Regions from separate parts of the Homo sapiens genome. Here region 2 is linked to region 1. Evidence: promoter capture Hi-C in human tissues and cell types (Jung and others, 2019). All regions are on one chromosome and are shown on one strand. Each heading gives the region's core, a stretch centred on a gene start or on the middle of the fragment in contact. The rest is flanking DNA. Distances are from core to core; before and after follow the strand shown.

Region 1 (5,170 bases), core at 1,766-4,265:
TCTTGGAATAAGTTAGACCAGCAGCTTCATTGAGGGACCTTTTAAGGCCACATTTACTGCACTGCCATTGAGTTATAATGAAGGACATGATAAGAAATGGCCTTATGTAACCCACAGACATATATCTGTGGTCACAAGGTAGATTCAAATGCCGTTCACTCACAGCATATAAAAGAAACTGCTCGGCTGGGCGTGGTGGCTCATGCCTGTAATCCCTGCATTTTGGGAGGTTAAGGCAGGCAGATCACGAGGTCAAGAGATCCAAGACCAGCCTGGCCAACATGATGTTGGCCTACTAAAAATACAAAAATTAGCTGGGTGTGGTGGCACGTGCCTGTAGTCCCAGATACTTGGGAGGCTGAGGCAGGAGAATCACTTGAACCCAGAAGGCAGAGGTTACAGTGAGGCAAGATCATGCCACTGCACTCCAGCCTGGCAACAGAGCAAGACTCCATCTCAAAAAAAAAAAAAAAAAAAAAACTGCTCTCAGAGAGCAGTATAAGGAGACTTCTCTCCCAAGTAAATGACCTCACTGATCATTTCCTCTTTGCTTTGGCTGGGAGAAAATGCAATCACCTCTAGTAAGCACATAATGTTCCACTAACCTTAGTCCTGGCTTTGTCTTACTTTCCCTTTGTCCTGTTTTTCCCATCTACTTGGAATTGATTTTTATATATCTTATTGGATTGCAAAATAAGTATATATGATGTGAGCCATCAGATATCACAGAAAGAGGTGAGTGCAAATGAAGACATAAACAAAAACACAAGCTCCCAAGTAGTAAAAATGAACATTTCATTTTCCCTGACTCAATACTTAGCTAAAAATCAACTGCCCTTGATATGTGACACTTCTACTATTATGTAGAAGTACAACCAAAGAGTTGAACTAACTTCCATATCACTTATTTTATGTTTTGTCGTTGTTGTTATTTGTTTTTGAGACAGGGTCTTGCTCTGTTGCCCAGACTGGAGTGCAATGGCACAATCTCGGCTCACTGCAATCTCCGCCTCCTGAGTTTAAGCGATTCTTCTGCCTCAGCATCCTGAGTAGCTGGGATTACAGGTGCCCACCAGCACGCCTAGCTAACTTTTTTGTATTTTTAGTAGAGACAGGGTTTTGCCACGTTGGCCAGGCTGGTCTCGAACTCCTGGCCTCAACTGACCCGCCCGCCCCAGCCTCCCAAAGTGCTGGGATTACAGGCATGAGCCACAGCACCAGGTCACTTATTTTACTTAATATTACTCAAGTCTTATACTCCATTTCTATGCACACGTCTCAATTTATGTTCCTCAATTACCTTATCTCCTAATAAAGTAAAAGTATTTACATTACCTGCAGATATAAAACTAACAGTAAAGAATGGGTACCTAGTCCCACCTACTCTAGGGAATTAGTTCATACCAAGCCTTGTACCTTGGTTGCATGCAAATTTAATGCAAAAAAAAGGTCAAGGGCTATTGGGCTTGAAAGGGTTAAGGCAGCTTCCAAAATTGAATCCTAGTGATGCTCAGAGAAACTGCTGAAAAGTTATAGATAGATATACACACGCACACCTGTGTGTTCATATGCAAACATACATGAGCCCACACACCCAGAGTACTTTCCTAAGGATGAAACTCAGAGTAATTACAGAAAAGAGAAATGCCACTTAGACCACAGAAACTAACAACATGAAGAAGCCTACGGATTTGGGGAGCCTGGAGAGACTTAAGTCATAGAACAGCATTTAAATATATTTGTCTGCTTACAATTTCCATTGCAAATGTGATTAGTTTGCTTGAATAAATAGGAATATGATGTGTTGGCCATGTTTTCCTCTTGAGGGTTATCACAGAGTTTTGATTAAGGACAAATGTTTGAAATGTTAGGTATATTTAAGTTCACTGCACTTAAAATGAGCTAAGAAGTTGTATAGGCTTGATTAGAGGGCTGCCTTCGTGAACTTAAATTAAAAGCAATAAATTCCAAATGATTCAAGTGATTGGGACTAAATATGGTATTCTGCCAGAGAAGTTGAAATGCAGTCCAAAGAGACTGAAATGGTGTCCAGGTTTCAAGAAATGGTGAAAGAGGAAAGGTCAAGTGTTGGAGTTGCCTTTCCTCTGGGTTAGTGAATGATTCACATTACACAGAACCCCTTTCAAGTACAACTTCACAGGAGTGACAGGCTCCCAGGACAATCTGTTTCATCGTTCCCAAAAAGAAGCCTCTCAAATGCTCCGAGGCGGGTATCTAAGTGTTGTCAGATGGAGAGAGGGAGGGGGAAGATGGGAATGATGGGAAAGCGGGGAGGGGGAGAGTCCCTGGACTTTTTATTCACAAAGGCGCAGACCAAGTCTCCTAGGCAGTTTCCAAAACGGAAGTCAAAGTAACTTCCCCACCCGCGGGAGGGCGGAGCCCTTGAAACGTAATAGGATCAGGCTTCAGCCCGGGCTCTGGCCCCTGGAAGAAGCCGGAGTCAACAACCAGCGGGGTCAGGAGCAGGAGCGCGCTGGGAAGGTAGAGAGGACCCCCAGCGCTTGCCGGCCCAGGGTGCACCAGGCCCCAGTCGCGCCCGCTCCTCCTCGTCGGCCCTGGCTCAGCCCCGTCAGGCACCAACTTCCCTCCCCGGCCAAGTGGGAGTGTCCGGCCCACAAAGTTTCCGCTGCGAGGTCGGGCCTCGGTCTCTGCACCGACCGCCTGTGCTGCCCGGGAGGAGTGGCCCCCTCCCTCCAGCAGCCGCAAGGTGGAACGGCTGCCCGGCACCCCATTTTGCTCCGCCTGTGGCACCAACCCAGACACGTGAGCGCCCGAGCCTCTCGCACCCCCAGGCTGATCCGGCAGGCGCGCTCCCCCCGGCCTCGGGCCCGCGGTTACCTTGGCGGCCGCCATGATTCGCCCCGGTTGCGGGCGACTGCGGGACCCACTGACTGGCTGGCTGGCGTTTGGGACCCGGGCGGCTCACTTCTAGTCCCGGCGGCGGCGGCGGTGGGGGCGGCGATACGGCCAGGCAGCGTGCGTTCCTGGCCTGCCTCCCCACGCCCTCCCGCCGGCGCGGGTCATGTGGATGCTGCCCGCCCATTGGCTGGGCCCAGCCTTGGCCGCCGGGGTGCGCGTGATCCAGCGGCCTCTGCCCTGCAGCCGGGGAGGGCTCAGATCCTGGGGCAGTGGCTGGACAGGGACACGTGACCCCGCTGCGCTGTCCAGCAGCGGCGGCCTCTGCGGCGTGGGCAGAGGTAACTTGGCCGTGTGCAAGCCCGTCACCTGAGGGCAGGTGGCCCCACCAGGGAAGCTGCTGGCTTCTGCTGATACCAGGGGCTACTGGGCCCTCGGACCGATGGGAGGGGCAAGTAACGACAGATGGTGCACGGCCTGGGGAAGTTGAGAACTCCACTAGGACACATACTTTGCTGGATATTTTTTCCCCTGTGCGTTCCCTTTGAAGGAGCTCCACTTTACACTGGATCCAAAAAGACTTTGATCCAAAAGCATTGACTTAGAAGGCGAGATTGCAAATATTGCTGGCACGCCTACTTTTAGATCAAAATCGGTGAACTCTTAAGAACCCAACAAGTGAATGTAGTGCAGAACGTATATTCATGAAACTACTCCATTTCAGCCCTACCTGTTAAAACGGTAGAAGTCAAAAGGCCCGGGTCAAAAGACTTCCCCCAAATAGGCCCTACTAAAATAAATAAACAAGCATTTTAATGAAAATTTGCTTATATGACCTCCAGGCCTTACTCCTCTTCATCAGGATTTCATTCTTCTGTCCTTGTAATCAAAATTTATAAGACAGTGGTGATCAGGGAAAAGGACTTTTAATGTATTGTAGGTTGTGGATGTAATATGGCAGCAAAAAGCACTTATTACTAATCAGTTTAATTCATTAACGTTGATTGAGTGCCTTCCTACTATGTGCTAGGCACTGTGCTTGGTGCTGGAAACCCCGAAATGACTTAAGAACTGGTTCCAACCGTTAAACAGCTTCAGGGCTATTGGGAAAGAGACACATAAATGTTTACTTCAGTATAACCTGTTAAGGCAGCAGACTGTTCCCAGGGCTCAATAAGAATACTGAGAATTCTCATGCCACTATGAAGAAATACCTGAGACTGGGTAATTTATAAACCAAAAGATTTAATTGACTCAGTTTCGCATGGTTTGGGAGACCTCAGGAAACTTACAGTTGTGGTGGAAGGCACCTCTTTACAGGGTTGCAGGAGAGAGAATGAGTGCCAAGCAAAGGGGGGAAAGCCCCTTGTAAAACCATCAGATCTCATAAGAACTCACTATCACAAGAACAGCATGGGAGTAACCGCCCCCATGATTCCGTTGTCTCTCACCGGGTCCTTCCCATGACATGTGGGGATTATGGGAACTACAATTTAAGATGAGATTTGGGTAGTGACACGGTCAAACCATATCAAAAGGTAACTTGATCTTGAGCTATGGGATTGGGGCAGTGGCACGACTAGTGGAAGGAGTCTGGCCCAGCAGGTAGGGGCTGTGTCATGGTGGGTCTTAGGCGCCTTGCTGAAGGGTATGCACCTTAACTGAAGGGTTTTAAGTCAGGAAGCAGCATGACTAGGTTTTCGATATAGAAAGATCTCTCTATGGTCTGAATGTGCCCCCCAAAATTGATGTGTTGGATACAATCTCTAATGCATCAGTGTTGGAAGGTTGGGTCCTTGGGGAGGTATTTTCATCACAAGGGCTCTGCCCTCATAAATGGATTAATGCTGCCATAAAAAGAGGTTTGGGGAGTGGGTTCACTCTCTCTTGCTCTTCTGCTCTTTTGCCATATAAGAACATAGCATTCCTCACCTTTGAAGGACACAGCATTCAAAGAGCCATCTTGGAAGCAGAGAAACCAGGCCGTAACCTGCCAGCACTTTGATCTTGGACTTCCTAGCGTCTAGAACTGTGAGAAATACATTTCCGTCCTGTTCTTCTAGTCTCAGGAATTCCCTTACAGCAACACAAAATGGACTAAAACACTGCTTGCAGTATGGAGGATGGGTTCCAACTGAACTACCAGGATGTCCAGACGAGACAGGCTGGGGATGGGCTAGGACTAGAGGAATACATAGAAGGTAAAATTAGTGGGGTTGGGACGGAAAAAGGGAGTTGTGCCATATTGCACATAGACTTGTGGTATGGGTGTCTGGAAAAACACCTGAGATTG
Region 2 (5,170 bases), core at 825-3,324, 780 kb after region 1:
CTCACCTTATACAAAAATCAGCTCAAAATGGATCAAAGACTTAAATCTAAGACCTGAAACCATAAAAATTCTAAAAGATAACCTCAGAAAAACAATTCTAGATATTGACTTAGGCGAAGACTTCATGACCAAAAGCAAATGCAACAAAAACAAATAGATGGTACCTAATTAAACTAAAAGGCTTCTGCACAGTAAAAGAAATAATCAGCAAACAGACAGCCCACAGAGTGGAAGAGTATCTTTGCCAGCTATGTATCTGATAAAAGACTCATATCCAGAATCTACAAGGAATTCAAAAAAATCAGCAAGAAAAAAACAAATAACCCCATCAAAAAGTGGGCAAAGGACATGAATAGACAATTCTCAAAAGAAGATATACAAATGGCCAACAAACATGAAAAAATGCTCAACATCACTAACGATCAGGGAAACGCAAATCGAAACTGCAGTGCAAAACCACCTTACTTCTGCAAGAATGGCCATAGATGTTGGCATGGATGTAGTAAAAAGGAGCACTTTTACATTGCTGTTGGGACTGTGAACTAGTACAACCCCTATGGAAAACAGTATGGAGAGTCCTTAAAGAACTAAAAGTAGAACTACCACTTGATCCAGCAATCCTACTACTGAGTATCTACCCAGAGGAACAGAAGTCATCATCCAAAAAAGACACTTGCTCATGCATGTTTATAGCAGCGCAATCTGCAATTGCAAAAATATAGAACCAGCCCAAATGCCCTTCAATCAATGAGTGGATAAAGAAACTGTGGTGTGTATATATATATATACATACACACACACACACACACACACACACACCATGGTATTATATTACATATATATGTTATATATATATGTTTTATATATATATGTTTTATATATATATGTTTTATATATATATGTTATATATATATATAAATGACATCAGTTTTCTCCAAAGACTTTTCTCTCTCCATGTATCTGTGACATATTTCTTTCTCTTGATATATGTCATTGTCAAGGAATCCTTGTTTTGACACTTCTTTTGTAAATCAGTTGCTTTTTCTCCTTGCCATTGCCCCACCTGCTTAGACTCTGTATCTCTCAGTTAAAGGATTGCAACAGTCTTCTAATTGCATTTCCTTTCTTTAGTTTTTTTTCTACCTCCAATTAATAGGACATAACATATATAGTATTCCATGGAATATATAGTATTCCATGGAATACTACTCAGCCATAAAAAGGAACAAAATAAAGGCATTCGCAGCAACTTGGATGGAGTTGGTGATCATTATCTAAGTGAAGTAACTCAGGAATGGAAAACCAAACATCATATGTTCTTACTTATAAGTGAGAGCTAAGCTATGAGGATGCAAAGGCATAAGAATGATATAATGGACTTTGGGTACTTGAGCGGAGGGGTGGGAGGAGGGTGAGGGATAAAAGACTACACATTGCGTACAGTGTACACTGCTCGGGTGATGGGTGCGCCAAATCTCAGAAATCACCACTAAAGAACTTTTCTGTGCAACCAAACACCATTTGTTCCCCCAAAACTGCTGAAATAAACAACAACAACAAAACAGAATAGATACTGTAAATTCATTCTAATTTGAGGAGGACAGAGAGAAGGGAGATAATGTCCCTTGTCAATTTTTTTGCATTTGTTTATATATTTACTGACTTTTGCTTTCTGTAGGTTAAATGACAATGGCCTTATGAAGTTGATATCTTTGTCTGAATTATTTAGATTGTTTTCCTTCAATTTTAAGAGTGCTATGTACTATGAAAGTACAGTGCTATGAAAAAGTGAGTTAGTAATAGTGTGGCTGCCAGTTGCCTTTGATTACAATGTGACTTTATATCCTGGGGGCACAGGTTGTACTCTGAGGACAGTGGGAAAGCTTTGGAAGATGGTGGGCTGTGGGAGACACCTGAGTGAAGCCATGTTTTAAAAAGATCAATTTGAATATGTTATGTCCTATTAATTGGAGGTAGAAAAAAAACTAAAGAAAGGAAATGCAATTAGAAGACTGTTGCAATCCTTCAACTGAGAGATACAGAGTCTAGGCAGGTGGGGCAATGGCAAGGAGAAAAAGCAACTGATTTACAAAAGTAGCGTCAAAACAAGGATTCCTCGACAATGACATGTATCAAAAGAAGGAAAGATGTCACAGATGCGTGGAGAGAGAAAAGTCTTTGGAGAAAACTGATGAGTTTAGCTTGGAACAGAGACTCTGAAAGGATGACAGGACACCCAGTTTGGACTTATCCTGTGGTTATATAGAGAGCAAGACTCTTAACTGTGGAGAGGTCAGAGGTGTGTGTATGAGGCTTGGAACAGCTTTTTGAGAAGCTATGCTGGCGGTTTTCCAGATAAGGGTCCAGTGAGGCCTTTGAAGTGGTTAGAATGGGCTTGGCCAGGCGGGGGCAGCAGAGCATCAGTAATTGCTGGGGACAGCTGGCCGGGACAAGAGCGCTGACAGGGAGTCATGTTTGGATTGAGCCTTCGCACTTGTTCACATTTGTGGGCTGGAAGAACTACAGCCAGTTAAGAAGACAGAGGGAGTGGGGTCCTGAAGGTGGGATCGCCTGGGCAGCACAAATGTGTGGAAGGCAAAGATGCAAAGACTTCTAGGAAGTCAGGAGGGGGTAGGAGTGTGAACAGAAGCAAATGACTAGTGACTTTGAAGAAAGAGATTTCAGAAGAATAGTGAGGCCAACACCAGGTTAAAAGGGGTCAAATGGGCTGGGCGTGGTGGCTCAAGGCCTGTAATCCCAACACTGGGAGGCTGAGGCGGGTGGATCACTTGAGGTCAGGAGTTCTGGACCAGCCTGGCCAATATGGTGAAACCCCATCTCTACTAAAAATACAAAAATTAGCCTGCAATCCCAGCTACTTGGGAGGCTGAGGCAGGAGAATCGCTTGAACCTGGGGAGGTGGAGGTTGCAGTGAGCCAATATCACACAACTGCACTCCAGCCTGGGTGACAAAGCCAGACTCAGTCTCAAAAAAAAGAGGAGGCAGGGGATTAAATGAGGAATGGGTATGGAGATGGAGAAAGTGGGAATAGGAATGTATATTTTCAAGTCAATGAAAAAAAGCAGAGTAACAGGATGGTCGCTTAAAGGGGAGGCAGAATAGAGAGATTTTCTTTTAACCTGAAGTATTCTCGTGAGTGTTTGTGAGCTCAATGAAATAATATCATGAAGAAAATAATTGAAAATGCCTGTGAGAGAAAGAACAAGGGGTTATGAAGACACTCCTCAGAAGAGTTGGGATATAATCAAGAGTTCTGGTGGAAAGTTTGGGTTGAAGGAGAGTAGGAAGGAAGAAGATATAGATAATGGAGATTTTATGGATCTTTATTAAGAGTGCCAACATTGTACAGTCAGCCCTTCATATCCATGCGTTCTGCATCACAGATTTAACCAACTCAGGATCAAAAATGTTCAGAAAAACAATTGCACCTGTACTGACATATACAGACTTTTCTTTGTCATTATTCCCTAAACAATATAGTATAACAACTATTTATATTGTATTAGGTATTATAAGTAATCTAGAGATTATTTAAGATATACGGGAGGATGTGTATAGGTTATTTGCAAATAACTATGCCATTTTTTATCATATACTTGAGCATCTGCAGATTTTGGTACCTGGGGAGCAGAGGAGAAGCACTGGAACCAATTCCCCATATATATCAAGAGATGATTGTATAAGTAAGCTGTATTCCAAATGTTCATTAGTTATCTGGAAAAGTTAAATCATTTTCCTGGAGAAACATGTGGTATTGCGGATATGGCATGTGGAAAGATTCTGGGCTGTGCTCTTCAGATCATGACATTATAATCACCTCCCCCTACTTTATAAATGTGGATATAACTCAAAGTTATGTTTTTACTGTTTTCACTTTACATTCTCCTCCTCAGAGAGAAGTTTCACTTTTACGGTTTAAAATATTCTTAACTATATAACAATATTTTCCCCCATTGTTGCAAGGACTCTTTAGTACAGAAAAGGCTGAACATTTAATAATTAGTTTTTAACACAGTGCCGTAATATCTTGTGTACTTTCCCAGAACTCAAATGTCTCCAAGATGGGAATTTAGATCACTGGTTCTGAATCCTGGCTGCACATTAGAATCACTTTGCCTGGAGCTTCTAAGCAATATCAATGTCTCAGCCCACCCTTGGAGGTTTGAATTGAGGCCTCATTCAAGCAGTTTAGAATGAGGCCTAAGAAACAGTATTTTATTATTTTTTTTTTTTACCAGTTTCACAGGTGAATGTAATATACAGCAGATGTTGAGAGCCACTGACTTAGACGATTAAAGGAACTGCACTGACACTATTAGGTAAATTTTCAATGCATCATGTAGGGTAGGCTGCCCCATTCAAACTCAGTGTGATTAAAATAAAATGCATTTCCACAAGCAGTTTTCTCTCCGGACTTTCTGTCTTCAATTATACATCCACAAAGGAAAACATGAAAACCTCTTAGATTCAGCTTTTTTTCCATTTCCTCATATCCGGTCAGTCCTTAAATCCAATGTCCTTCATAGTCTCATGCCCATGCTCCCACAGCTCTGCCTGCCTCTATGTGTTATGAACTCCTGGAAATCTCTTGCTGTCTTCTTTGGCTCAAGTGCAGACAGTTGAGTTAATCATGTTCTTCAGGCATGTTGTCATCCTGGATTCATGCAAGGCCCTTTGTTTAAATGAAGGTATTTATTCATTCAATAGTCTATTTTGCACATGGCTGCCAGATTGTTTTTAAAAGACTGCTTTCACCAATTCTCTTGACTCACATCTCCCAGTAACTCCTCATTTCCTACTCTGTAAATGGTGAACTACTTTGTGTGCCTTTTAAGGCTTTATATAATTGGTATTGAAACTCCAGGGATTCAGTCTAGGTCCTGCTGCTCACCACACAGGAAGCCAATCACTGAGACAGAGTATTGCCAGGGAAGAAGGCTTTATTCAGGTGCTATAGCTGAGGAGATCGGAGATCAGTCTCAAATCCATCTCCATTCATCTCCCTGACCAACTAAAATTGAAAGTTTATATACCAGGAAAGAAAAGTAACTATGTGTGGGAAAACAGGAATTAGGGAGGGGTAAGGAAGAGGAATTGGCCAACAGGAAGCAGGTGGTCAGTTAGGCAATAATAATGGCTAAGGGATCT

The links. The method cuts DNA at HindIII sites, captures the fragments that hold promoters and counts their contacts. A contact is called where the count stands out against the background at its distance.
Region 2: a contact is called between a fragment that was not itself captured here and the fragment with the promoter of SLC25A13 in region 1, in 1 of the 25 tissues and cell types used here (lymphoblastoid cells).

Annotation. Positions count from the first base shown.
Region 1 is chr7:96,319,083-96,324,252 of GRCh38, forward strand. SLC25A13 (solute carrier family 25 member 13) reads right to left here and starts at 3,016. Exons shown (of 18, transcript NM_014251.3): 1 at 2,860-3,016. The coding sequence starts at 2,874. RefSeq lists a silencer at 2,812-3,151. The HindIII fragment of the contact is 12,396 bases long and covers 1-5,170 here.
Region 2 is chr7:97,102,424-97,107,593 of GRCh38, forward strand. No RefSeq gene overlaps it. Among named protein-coding and RNA genes, the nearest start is that of SDHAF3, 13 kb to the right of the region's middle. The HindIII fragment of the contact is 9,050 bases long and covers 1-5,170 here.